3 separate regions of the Homo sapiens genome follow, and regions 1 and 3 are each linked to region 2. Evidence: promoter capture Hi-C in human tissues and cell types (Jung and others, 2019). All regions are on one chromosome and are shown on one strand. The core of a region is centred on a gene start or on the middle of the fragment in contact, and the rest is flanking DNA. Distances in the headings are between cores, read along the strand shown.

What was found. Contacts are between HindIII fragments. The study calls those that stand out against the background at their distance.
Region 1: a contact is called between a fragment that was not itself captured here and the fragment with the promoter of IL18BP in region 2, in 1 of the 25 tissues and cell types used here (mesendoderm cells).
Region 3: a contact is called between a fragment that was not itself captured here and the fragment with the promoter of IL18BP in region 2, in 2 of the 25 tissues and cell types used here (bladder and lymphoblastoid cells).

What each region holds. Positions count from the first base shown.
Region 1 is chr11:71,941,496-71,945,671 of GRCh38, forward strand. All of the region lies in intron 1 of RNF121 (ring finger protein 121), which reads left to right. Among named protein-coding and RNA genes, the nearest start is that of RNF121, 15 kb to the left of the region's middle. The HindIII fragment of the contact is 4,929 bases long and covers 1-4,176 here.
Region 2 is chr11:71,997,227-72,001,113 of GRCh38, forward strand. It overlaps IL18BP (interleukin 18 binding protein), which reads left to right and starts at 1,683. Exons shown (of 6, transcript NM_001039660.2): 1 at 1,683-1,793; 2 at 2,701-2,786; 3 at 3,125-3,331. The coding sequence starts at 2,759. It overlaps RNF121 (ring finger protein 121), which reads left to right. Exons shown (of 9, transcript NM_018320.5): 9 at 1-371. The HindIII fragment of the contact is 6,503 bases long and covers 1-2,353 here.
Region 3 is chr11:71,958,292-71,962,588 of GRCh38, forward strand. It overlaps RNF121 (ring finger protein 121), which reads left to right. Exons shown (of 9, transcript NM_018320.5): 3 at 2,459-2,600. Among named protein-coding and RNA genes, the nearest start is that of RNF121, 31 kb to the left of the region's middle. The HindIII fragment of the contact is 5,197 bases long and covers 1-4,293 here.

The DNA of each region.
Region 1 (4,176 bases), core at 686-3,185, 55 kb before region 2:
CTTGCTCATATTAGGTTTAGTTTCTAATGTGGTAAAGTAGATAACAAATAAACAGGATAACTCCAGATGGTGACAAATGCTTTGAGAAAAGTAATGTAATGTGATAAAGATGACTAGAAGAGAAAGGCTACTTTAAATAGGGTGATTATGGAAAGCCTCTGAGGAAATGCTACTTGAACCAAGTCCTGAATGGTGAAGACCTAGCAATTTCGAGATTTGGAAGCAGATATGTTCCAAGTGGAGGGAGAAGCAAGTACAAATTAATGGGAATGAACAAGGCATGTCCTGGGACCAAAAAGAAAGCCAGTGTGACAGATCATAATTAGCAAAGGAAAAATGGTTCTGTATGAGGTCAGGGAGTCTGGCAAGGTCAGATTTATAAGGCCTTGTAGCTGCTGTGATACATGTTGAATTTTATTGAGCGTGTAATGAGAATTTTTTTTTTTTTTTTTTTTGAGACGGAGTCTTGCTCTGTTGCCCAGGCTGGAGTGCAGTAGCGCGATCTTGGCTCGCTGCAAGCTCCGCCTCCTGGGTTCGTGCCATTCTCCTGCCTCAGCCTCCCGAGTAGCTGGGACTACAGGTGCCTGCCACCACGCCCAGCTATTTTTTTGTATTTTTTATTAGAGACGGGGTTTCACCATGTTAGCCAGGATGGTCTCAATCTCCTGACCTAATAATCCATCTGCCTCGACCTCCCAAAGTGCTGGGATTACAGGCATGAACCACCGTGCCCGGCAATGAAAAGATTTTGATTGGGTTTCAAAATGGGAGTGATGTGAGCTGATTTTCATTTTTTAAAAGATCTTTCTGGCTGCTTTGAGAAGAATGGATTGTAGGAGGTGACTCAGTGAGAGGGTTAGGAAGTTATGGTAATAGTCCATATGGGAGATGATAGTGTTTTGGATTCGGTGGGGGGTGTTTTAGTCCTTTTGGGCTGCTATAGTAAAATACCTTAGACTGGGTAATTTATAAACAACAGAAATTTAGCCGGGCACAGTGGCTCACGCCTGTAATCCCAGGACTTTGGGAGGCTGAGGCGGGCGGATTACTTGAGACTAGGAGTTTGAGACTAGCCAGGCCAACATGGTGAAACCCCGTTTCTACTAAAAATATAAAAAATTAGCTGGGCATGGTGGCAGGTGCCAGTAATCCCGGCTACTCTGGAGGCTGAGGCAGGAGAATCGCTTGAACCTGGGAGGCGGAGGTTGCAGTGAGCCAAGATCGTGCCACTGCACTCCAGCGAGACTCTGTCTCCAAAAAAAAAATCTATATATCTGTATATATATATATATATAGATATATATATGTACACACACACACACACACACATATATATGTATATATTTCTCACAGTTCTGGAGGCTGGGAAGTCTAAAGGCAAAGTTCTAGCAGATATGATGTCTGGCAAAGGCTCTGTGCTTCAAAGGGGGCTCCTTGTTGCTGTGTCTTCACATGGCAGAAGGGACACACAGCCTCCCTAAAGCCACTTTTGTAAGGGCACTAATCCCATTCATGAGGTCTCCACCTTCACAACCTAATCACCTCCTAAAGGTTCCCTCCACCTCTTCTTAATACTATTGCATTGGAGGTTAGGTTTCAACGTACTAATTTTGGGGAACACAAACATTCAGACCATAGCAGGGATAGCAGAGACGATGGAGAAAAGTGGATAAATTTAGAATATGTTTTGAAATAGAGCCTACAGGACTTGCTGGTGGATTGGATATGTGATGTAAGGGAAAGAAAATAATCAAGCTTGCTTTTATATTTTTTTGAATTTTTTGCTTTGACTTGAGTAAATGGCATCACCATGGTACCATTAGGTGCCATGTTAATTAGGCAGTTGGAAATACGAGCTTATAGCTCAGGGAGAGGTTTGGACGTTGTTCTGGGACTCTGAAGATCTGGCTTTTTATCCTAGCTCTGCCATGCAGCTGTTATCTGTGACAAGTCAATAAGGTAATGCTGTCAGCTTTAAAATAATAAAGGCATTTGTTACGCCAGCCTCGTGTATGTTGGGAGAATCCTGTTCACTTGTTTATTGATTGGTCACATACTGTGAATTTACCAAGGTACTGCATTAGATGTGAAAGATAACAAAGACATAGGCCTTGCTCTCAGGTTGCTCATGGTGTAGTGGAAAAGTTAGTAAACAGATGTAATAATTGCTATAATATGAAGAAGCAGAGATTTCAGGGAGCACCAAAAATGGCAGGCAAGGGATCAGAAAAGACTCCCTAGAAGTGATACCATAGCTGAGTGTGAAAGTGACTAGAAATTAACCAGCTAAAGAAAGAATAGAAGAGCCCTCTAGGCAGGAGGAGCAGCATGTGCAAGGTGGGAGGTGAGAAAGAGAATGCCACCTTCAGGGAACTGTATGCAGTTTAGTATTACTGGAACCTCAGAGTAGAAGGTGGGGAGTAATGATAAAATAGGGAGACTGGAAAGGGAGGCAGATGTGATGACACATAAGGCCTTATATGCTGTGCTGAGGAGTTTGGATTTTTATCTGTAGCTGATGATTAGCTGTAGAAGAGCTTTAAGAACTTAGGTTGGCTGGGCACGGTAACTCATGTCTGTAATCCCAGCACTTTGGGAGGCTGAGGTGGGAGGATCACTTGAGGTCAGGAGTTCGAGACCAGCTTGGGCAACATGATGAAACCCCGTCTCTACTAAAAATACAAAAAATTAGCCAGGCGTGGTGGCATGCACCTGTAATCCCAGCCACTCGGGAGACTGAGGCAGGAGAATCACTTAAAGCTAGGAGGTGGAGGTTGCAGTGAGCCGAGATTGTGCCACTGCACTCCTGCCTGGGCAACAGAGCGAGACTCTGTCTCAAAAAAAAAGAGGAACTTAGGTGAATGACATGGATCAGATGTGCATTATAGAAAGATCATTCTTGGGGCAGAAATGGAGGAGGGACTAAGGGGCAGGAAAAATTTGCCTTAATCCAGGCAAGTAGGGCTTCCAAATTTATCTAATTCTAAAATGCACATAATTTCTGGTGTATTATATATACTGCAGGAGAGCATATGTTAAGTCCCAAAGGAGCTGGGAGCAGAGGAAGGTAAAACTGGAAAGACAGCTAGGGGTCAGGTCATGGCCTTGTGTGGTCCCAAGAGCTCACTGTCCGTGCTCCTGTGGAGGGCATTGTGTAGTCTACTAAGGAGTTCTTACTTTCACAGGCAGCATTAGGACACCAGAAGATTTGAACTTGGGTGACACAGTGACTCGAGAAGTACATGAGGTTGAAGGACCTGGATTAAGTTTGTAGACTGAGTAATAGGAAGGAAGGAAAAGATAGTAGATATATTTCTTACCCCACTGATCTAGGCCTTCTGGTACTACCAGCCATGAACTTTGGTTTTCCCTTCTCCCTAAATCTTCCTTCAGTCCTAGCTGTATGCTGTGTTAAGTTTGGAAAGTATTTACTGCTGGCTATTAAAGATCAAGTAGGATTATGTTAGTATTTCTCTTACAAGGAAGAGTCACTTTTTTGTTGTTTTTTTTTTTGAGACAGGGTCTTCTGTCACCCAGGCTGGAGTGCAGTGGTGTGATCATGGCTCACTGCAGTCTGAACCTCCTGGGCTCAAGTGATCCTCCTGCCTCAGCCTCCTGAGTAGCTGGGACTACAGGTGTGTGCCACCACACTTGGCTAATTTTTAAATTTTTTGTAGAGATGGAGTCTTGCTATGTTACCCAGCTGGGTCTCCCAACTCCTGGCCTCAAGTGATCCTCCTGCCTCGGGCTCCCAAAGTGTTGAGATTACAGGCATGAGCCAACATGTCTGGCCAAGATTCACTTTTATTTATTTATTTTTAAGATTTTTAATTTTTTTCACATGGCCACTGTGCCAAAAGGAGTCACTTTTAAACTTAGTAGCCGTTGGCTGTATCAGATGGCTTTCCCAGTTCCTCTGGATTCTTCTGCAATATCATCCCCACTGTTTGTTCAAGAGAGAATTAAGAGAGAATTACTCAGTGTCTGAGTATTTCCCAAGCATTTGCTTTGTGTCTAGTTCTAAGTGTGAAGTGTGAAGGGGATGCTGAACAAGTAAGTCATTTATCCTTGTTTCCAAAGCAGTTAATATTATTTAACATCTGTCTGTCATTTATTGAACACATACAGTATACCAGATTATGAGCTAGTTCTCTGAAATACAAAGAAGAATACGAC
Region 2 (3,887 bases), core at 433-2,932:
TACGTGAGGCAGAAGAATATGACAGATGTCAGCTTCTCCCTGTGTCAGATGATATGTCCTTGAAGCTGGCAGGGGATTCCCAGTCCAGGGAATATCCCTACATGATTTTTGTCATTCATGGGTCCTCCCTGGGCCTGACAACGGGAGTGGTGGGTGGGTGAGAACAGGTTCTGAGAGGGGGCTTCTAGGAAGGCCCCAGCCCTAGTCCTAGGCGACTTGAATAAAGTGGGAGGTCAAACATGGGCCTTCGGCATTGGGTTTCTAGGGAATATGGCTCAGTAGGGCCTGCCCCTTCAAGGGCAGCAAGAACGAAGCAGGATGTTGTCACTCCCGTCTGAATAAAGCTCCATGAGCTGGGTTGGAAAGCTGAACATTTATCTTGCTTTCTTCTTCCCACCTCTTTCCCTGGGGTCCCCAGGGGTGTCTTGCCTTTGTTAACCCCCATCGGAGACCTGAGGGTCTGGGGGTGGTTGGGCCTGCCTTTCTGCTGTTCCCAGCTGTTCCCCTGCTGACATCCCTAGGAGTGGTGGAATGCCAGGCTCCTGTCCTGTGGCCTGGGGGCCTGGGGCATCATTGGGCCTGCCTTCAGACTGAGGTTGCTCTATGTTCTCACTGCCTGAGGACAGTGTCCCGCCACCACCTGCCTTCCTGAGGACCACACTCAGGCTCGGCTTCTCTTCCCCAGCTGTGGCTTCCCATGGTACCCTGCTGCTTATGCCACCTGTGGGGCTGTTCCCCTCCTCAGAGAGGGGAATGGGGCTGGTCAGAGGACCTAGGGATCACCCTTCCTTTTACTTTTTCCCCCCACCCCCCTGTCAGGCTCAGGTGAGAAGCCGAGGCCAGGCTGTCCAAAGCTCTTTTCATGTGTAACAGTTCTGAGTCCCTTGACCTCCCCCCTTGGCCTGACTCTGGTCTCGGTTCCACTAAGACAGAGTCCTGTCATCTTTCCCTACCATCCCCCACTGGACTGTCTCTCTCAGAAACCCCAGGCAGCCTTGCCTCCTGACCTAACTCCTGGAGATGCTGGTGTTCTTGGGAGGAATTTCTCCTGCATCTTACATGCTAGAAGCCCCTGGGGCAGGAGGTAGGGGGAGGAATTGAGAGGAGGAAAAACATGAACTAGACACCTAGAGAAGAAGGATGTGACTTGTAGTATCCTATGTCTAAATTAGGAATATGAATCTGGTTTTTCTACAAGAAGTTTGAGATCACAGCTGACTGTGTTCCTGATGCATCCACCAAACCCAGTTCCATCTGTGGGCCTCCCTGGCTCTGTCACCAGCCGTTGCACCCTCCCAATCACAGGAGTCACAAACCTCAGACATGCAGCTCCTGTCCACACTTAATATATGCATGCATTGGATCACCCAGCCCTGGTCTTTCTGCCTCCATGGATAACTGCATGACCCTGAGAGAAAACCTCCTTAGATTTAGCATCCTAGGTTCCTCACACGCCTCACCCTGAATCCTGGCCCTCCCGCAGCCCCAGCGCCATTTGTCCCATCAGTGACAAGATTCATATTCTGATGTAGACTCTGTTGCCAGAGCCAGTGTTGAGCCAGTCCGCCTCTTCCCCGGGAAGTGCCTGCCCTTCCCTCCTGTTAGGGTTGGCTCTCGAGCTTGTGTGCCAGTTCCTGGGTTGGCCGTGAGAGTTCTACAGACAAGGAGGAAGTGCTCTCGGTGTATTTCCTGTGGTGGGTTCACACGCAGCTAGACACAGCTAACTTGAGTCTTGGAGCTCCTAGAGGGAAGCTTCTGGAAAGGAAGGCTCTTCAGGACCTCTTAGGAGCCAGGTAGGAGTCTGGGACTACTAGTGAACCTAGACCTGTGGCTCTGGCCAGAGGGGCTAGGATGAGAGACAGAGGGTGTGATGGTGGGTGCTGGGAGATGTAGCCGACCTTGGGGCTGGTGGCTGGGGGAGTGGGTAGCCTGGGAAAGGCCAGGATGTGGACGGACTGGTATGGCATTGAGCCTGAAGTGGTCCAACTTGGGGTTCCCCAGTGCCTAGGAAAGTTGTCCCCTTGAATGTCAGTGTGAAGGTGAAGGAGGAAGCAGATGCCTGTTCATATGGAAACAAAGACCTGGCTGTGAAGAGGGGAGGCGGACACCAAAGTCCTGACACTTGGGCGGGACAGAATTGATCTGTGAGAGACTCATCTAGTTCATACCCTAGGTGACCCTGGGGGTGGCATGGGGGTAGATTAGAGATCCCAGTCTGGTATCCTCTGGAGAGTAGGAGTCCCAGGAGCTGAAGGTTTCTGGCCACTGAACTTTGGCTAAAGCAGAGGTGTCACAGCTGCTCAAGATTCCCTGGTTAAAAAGTGAAAGTGAAATAGAGGGTCGGGGCAGTGCTTTCCCAGAAGGATTGCTCGGCATCCTGCCCTTCCCAGAAGCAGCTCTGGTGCTGAAGAGAGCACTGCCTCCCTGTGTGACTGGGTGAGTCCATATTCTCTCTTTGGGTCTCAATTTTGCCTTCCCTAATGAAGGGGTAAGATTGGACTAGGTAAGCATCTTACAACCATTTGTGGTCATGAGAGCTGGGGTGGGGAAGGATTGTCACTTGACCCCCCCAGCTCTGTTTCTAAGTGCTGAAAGAGCTCCAGGCTATGCTACGGGAGGAGAAGCCAGCTACTGAGGAAAAGCCAGCTACTGAGAAAAAGCGGGAGTGGTTTACCATTCTCCTCCCCCACCTTTCACCAGAGAAGAGGACGTTGTCACAGATAAAGAGCCAGGCTCACCAGCTCCTGACGCATGCATCATGACCATGAGACACAACTGGACACCAGGTAGGCCTTGGGGCTACGCATGGGCAGGCGGGGTAGGGTGAGGTCTATGAACAGAATGGAGCAATGGGCTAACCCGGAGCCTTCACTCCAAGGCAAACCACCCAGCGCACCTGGTGCTGTTGCTTTAAGAACCTGGGCAGATATTGTAGCTCTGGCTCCAGTCTAAAGCTTCTCTGTACTCTGTTCAATAAAGGGCTAAGGGGTGGGTGCTGAGGGGTCCCTCTTCCCGCTCTGATTCCCTGGCTAGAACCCAGACATCTCTGGGCTGGAGTTACATCCTTACCCGGGCAGCCCACTCTGTCTCCAGAGCCGCTGACCTGTAACTGTCCTTTCCTCAGACCTCAGCCCTTTGTGGGTCCTGCTCCTGTGTGCCCACGTCGTCACTCTCCTGGTCAGAGCCACACCTGTCTCGCAGACCACCACAGCTGCCACTGCCTCAGTTAGAAGCACAAAGGACCCCTGCCCCTCCCAGCCCCCAGTGTTCCCAGCAGCTAAGCAGTGTCCAGCATTGGAAGTGACCTGGCCAGAGGTGGAAGTGCCACTGAGTAAGAAGCACAGTGGTGGAGGGTGGGCTATGGGCACAGAGGTTCCCAGGGTCGGGTTGACTCCTGAGCGCCAGTCCCCTTCTGCCCATGTACCACCAGCTGAGCCAGCTGGGCTGAGCACGCACCATTCTCCCTCCCCAACCCAGTGTCATGGGTGCAGGCTTGGCGCAGCTCCCAAGATGCTCCCTATCAAATAGGACAGAGAACTCAAGACATAAGTAATGGTCACAGGACCTCCCAGAGCCTTGGTTGCAGTGGACCCCAAGGCCAGCCCCTCCACCCAGAGCCTGCTGGCCTCTGGCCATCTCAGAGGAGCAGCAGCCATCCAGCACTGCCTTTGTCACCTGGGCTCCCAAGTCACCGAGGCTGGGCACTAGAAAAGGTCATCCTGAGGAGACAGGTTCAGAAGAGGATTCATCACGTGAACCAAGGACCATTCCTCACATTCCCCGTGTTTAGGGCTAGGGCCTCTCGGAGACAACTGCACTTCTGTAACGGACGTTCCCACCTAGGTGGTGTGCAGAGCAGTTCTCTAGGTTCCAGATGCATGGGGACT
Region 3 (4,297 bases), core at 445-2,944, 39 kb before region 2:
TCAAAGGGCACAGGAAAATAGTGGTAGGAACAGGATGGTTTTGTTTTGTTTGAATAACATCATGATAAATCTTTGAAGGGGTGGCATTGGGAAAGAAGAGTCAATATGTCCTTTGTTGTTATGGAGTATCGGATTAGGTCTAATGGACTGAAGCTATAAGAAGATAGATTTTTTTTTTGTCTCATTGTCAGAACTGTCTTTAATAGTCAAGGTATATTGAGAGGTAATGAGCTTTCTGTCCCTAAAACATTGGGATTTTATTCATTTATAAGCAAATATTAGTACCTGCCCAGGTGTGGTAGCTCCCACCTGTAATCCCAGCACTTTGGGAGGCCAAGGTAGGAGGATCCCTTGAGCCCAGCAGTTCGAGGCTGCAGTTCATCTAGCCTGGATGACAGAGCGAGACTCTCTCCAAAAAAATAATATATGTATATGTACCTACAATGTGCCAGACACTGCTGGTTCTAAAATAGATTACCTTAAAAGGCATGTGTTCTCAGCCAGTGGAAGTATTCAAGCAAAGATTGCAAAAATGATTTTTGCATTGGGTGGGAACTTGAACTGGATGACTTCTCTGGTCTTTTCTAGATCATTCTTTGACTTCATTTTGTGCACATCCGTTCACTGATATGTTGTCTGAGAACAAGAAACTTATCTCTTGCTATCTTTATAACTCCTCATAGCCCTTAGGTGTTTTTAAGTGTGCTCTACCCTCTTAGCCTATTCTCACAACAACTCTTGAGTCAGGCAGAAAAAATATGGACTCCTTTTGACAGATGAAGAAATTGTGATATACAGATGTGAGGTTAATTGGCCATGGCCATATAGGTGGGTCTGAATCTAAGTTTCGAACTCCCAATCCTATTCTCTTTCTGTCAGATTCTCCCACCCAGGGTAAAGTTTTATGTCAGATGAACCCTTAGGTGCTGAGGCTTACTGACTGGCATTTGGCTTCCCACTCTGCCCACCAAGTTTTCCCCCCTTACATTTTGTTATGAAAAACTTTAAACACATAGAAAAGTTGAAAGAATTGTACAGTGAACACCTTTATACTTACCACCTGGGTTCTACACTTTTTGTTATATTTGCTTTATTGTTTATAATTCATCCTTCTGGGTTATTTTTGCTGTTAATGTTTAATTGCCCATGGAAATTCCATGAAGACACTATTTATGTTGTCCTTTTCCTCCCTCCTAAATACCCTGGTGTAATGGGAATTGTATAAAAGCTTATGACTCAAGTTACATTTGTATTTGATTTTATTATTTATTTAAATTTGCCCTTTCCCACACATTCTGATGTATTTGATTTTCTCTCTAATTCCTTCTCTTCTCTCTCTCTTCTTCTTTTTTTTTTTTTTTTGAGATGGAATCTCATTCTGTCGCCCAGGACGGAGTGCAGTGTTGCGATCTTGGCTGACTGCAACCTCCACCTCCCAGGTTCAAGTGATTCTCCTGCCTCAGCCTCCTGAGTAGCTGGGATCACAGGCATGCACCACCACACCCGGCTAATTTTTGTATTTTTAGTAGAGACGGGGTTTCGCCATGTTGGCCAGGCTCATCGTTAACTCCTGACCTCACGTGATCCTCCGGCCTCAGCCTCTCAAAGTGCTGGGATTACAGGTGTGAGCCACCGCGCCCGGCCTCTAATTCCTTTCTCATTCCTCTCCTTTGGATGACTGTGACCCAGAGTGGTAGGAGTGACTGTTCTTAGAACAAGTTTTTAGCCAGTATTAGCCAAGGGAATCACTTGCTGCCAGTCTTTAAGACCAGCGAATGCCAGCCTTAGATTAATAAAAAGTTTCCAGCTGTACTCTCTAGTTACTAAACTTCCTTGAGCCTTTGAGGAGGCTGTTTACCTGTGGATACTGAGGGTAAAGTCACTGTTGGATTAGTATAAAGTTGAAGCAGTCCAGACTTTTTAGGCTTTAACTAGTCTTAAGGATTTCTGACTCTGGCAGAGAGGGTGGAATGAATAAAGCAAGACTTTAATCCTGGAATCAGCACACATTTGCAGCGTTACTCCTTTACTGCTGTCATAAATATTGGTGACTAAGCGTATGAGACTTTATGTCTATAACCTCTTTGGGTTACTTTCTCGTTCCAGCATCAGGTTGAAATAGACTTGAAATGGGCAATGATGCAGGTTTCTCCTGGGACCTCCTTCATGCTACAGGAAAGGTGTCAGCTGTTTCTTCCATGGGGGCAGGCAGCAGGCCACTTAGCTCTAATTCCAATATCTAGGCTTGGTTGCTGGGGGGTCCGTAGAGCCTGTATTCTATCTCGACATGCCTGTCTGTTAGGGTGTGTGTCCTAGCCCCTAATTTGTGTGGTACCCTGCAGCTATGAAGCAGGGAATGTGTTCTGAGCTATGTACTGGTGGGATATCCCTGGAAAGCACTGTCCCTTTATCACTACAGCATCCCTGACTTGATTCACCCCATGTGTTTGGCTTTCAGGGTCGAGCACGCACGCATGCATGCCAAGCACCGTGGCCATGAAGCTATGCATGCTGAAATGGTCCTCATCCTCATCGCAACCTTGGTGGTGGCCCAGCTGCTCCTGGTGCAGTGGAAGCAGAGGCACCCACGCTCCTACAATGTAAGCCACTTTGCCTCTTACTTCTTTGTCTGTCAGTCATCAAGAGACCCTTCCTAAGTATTCTAGGTCCCAGCCTAACCCAGGCCACATGGAGGTGGAGAAAGACAATAACAATGAACTTTATGTATGAATGATGAATAGTGTATTGGCGAGTGTGTGTCTAAGGGTCAGGTGATTCAGAGGGTGAAAAGGATAGAACATAAGACTATGTTCATAGGCAGAAAAGATAGGTTTTCCCTTCGAAACATTGTGGGACAGGTTCATGAAGGAGATAATCATCAGGAACTATTCAATTGGAGAGAGCAAAGATGAATTGACTGGGAAAACTAAGCATCTCATGAATCTTACAGGATCTAGATTACACTAATCTAAATTTTTTTAAAGAAGGATCGGGTGTGGTGGCTCATGTTTGTAATCCTAGTACTTTGGGAGATTGAGGTGGGCAGATGGCTTCAGCTCAGGAGTTCAAGACTAGCCTGGGCAACATGGCAAAACCCTATATCTACAAAAAATAGAGAAATTAGCCAGGCGTGGTGGCATGCGCCTATAGTCTCAGCTACTGGGGAGGCTGAGAGGTGGGAAGATTCCTTGAGCCTGGGAGGTCAAGGCTGCAGTGAGTCGTGATCGTGCCATTGCACTCCAGCCTGGAGACAGAGCAAGACTCTGTCTCAAAAAAAAGAAAAAGAAAAAACAGTAATGGTTGAAATTAGGTGGGGAAAATGACACACAGAAAACAAATAGCAAAATGGCAGAAGTTAATTCTTCCTTACCAGTAATCACTTTAAATATAAATGGATTAAATTCTTCCATTAGAAGACAGAAATTGGCAGATTGGTTTTAAAAATCCCCTCATTTATCGATATGCTGTCTATAGTAAATTCACTTTAGGTGGAAAGACACAAGCCAGGAGTGGTGGCACACACTTGTAATCCCACCTATTGAGGAGGCTGAGGTGGGAGAATTGCTTGAGCCAGGGGATTCAGTAAACTCATAAATGAGTGAAAGCCCCCTTGGCATTTCTGTGCTTATATGTAGAAATATTTTTAATTATATAATTTTGGCTAATCTGCAAAGATTTTTTTTTTTTTTTTTTTGAGACAGAGTCTCGCTGTGTCGCCCAGGCGGGAGTGCAGTGGTGCAATCTCTGCTCACTGCAAGCTCCGCCTCCCGGGTTCACGCCATTCTCCTGCCTCGGCTTCCCGCATAGCTGGGACTACAGGTGCCCACCATCACGCCTGACTAATTTTTTTGTATTTTTAGTAGAGACGGGGTTTCACTGTGTTAGCCAGGATGGTCTCGATCTCCTGACCTTGTGATCCGCCTCGGCCTCCCAAAGTGCTGGGATTACAGGCGTGAGCCACCGCGCCCGGCAGATTTTTACAACCTATTCTGAAGAAAGTGAGTATGCATATATGCACTGCAGTAATTTTCAATAAGAACTTTTTCCTTAAGTGTGGAATCCTTTCTTTAAACATTATCTTAAGGAAAAACTCAATCTGGGAAACAGTTAAGAGGCTGCTCTGCTTGATATGAAGGTTGGGTAACCCTAACACCTCTGCTTCCCCCTCTGAAATCTCTAGGACTCATCATAGCACTGTTAGAAAACCACTGATGTGTTATTCATTAGTTAATTCTTAACAGGAGATGTGTCTGTGACTTAATGAGGCCAGTTGTACTAGGAATGTGCAGTTTACTTG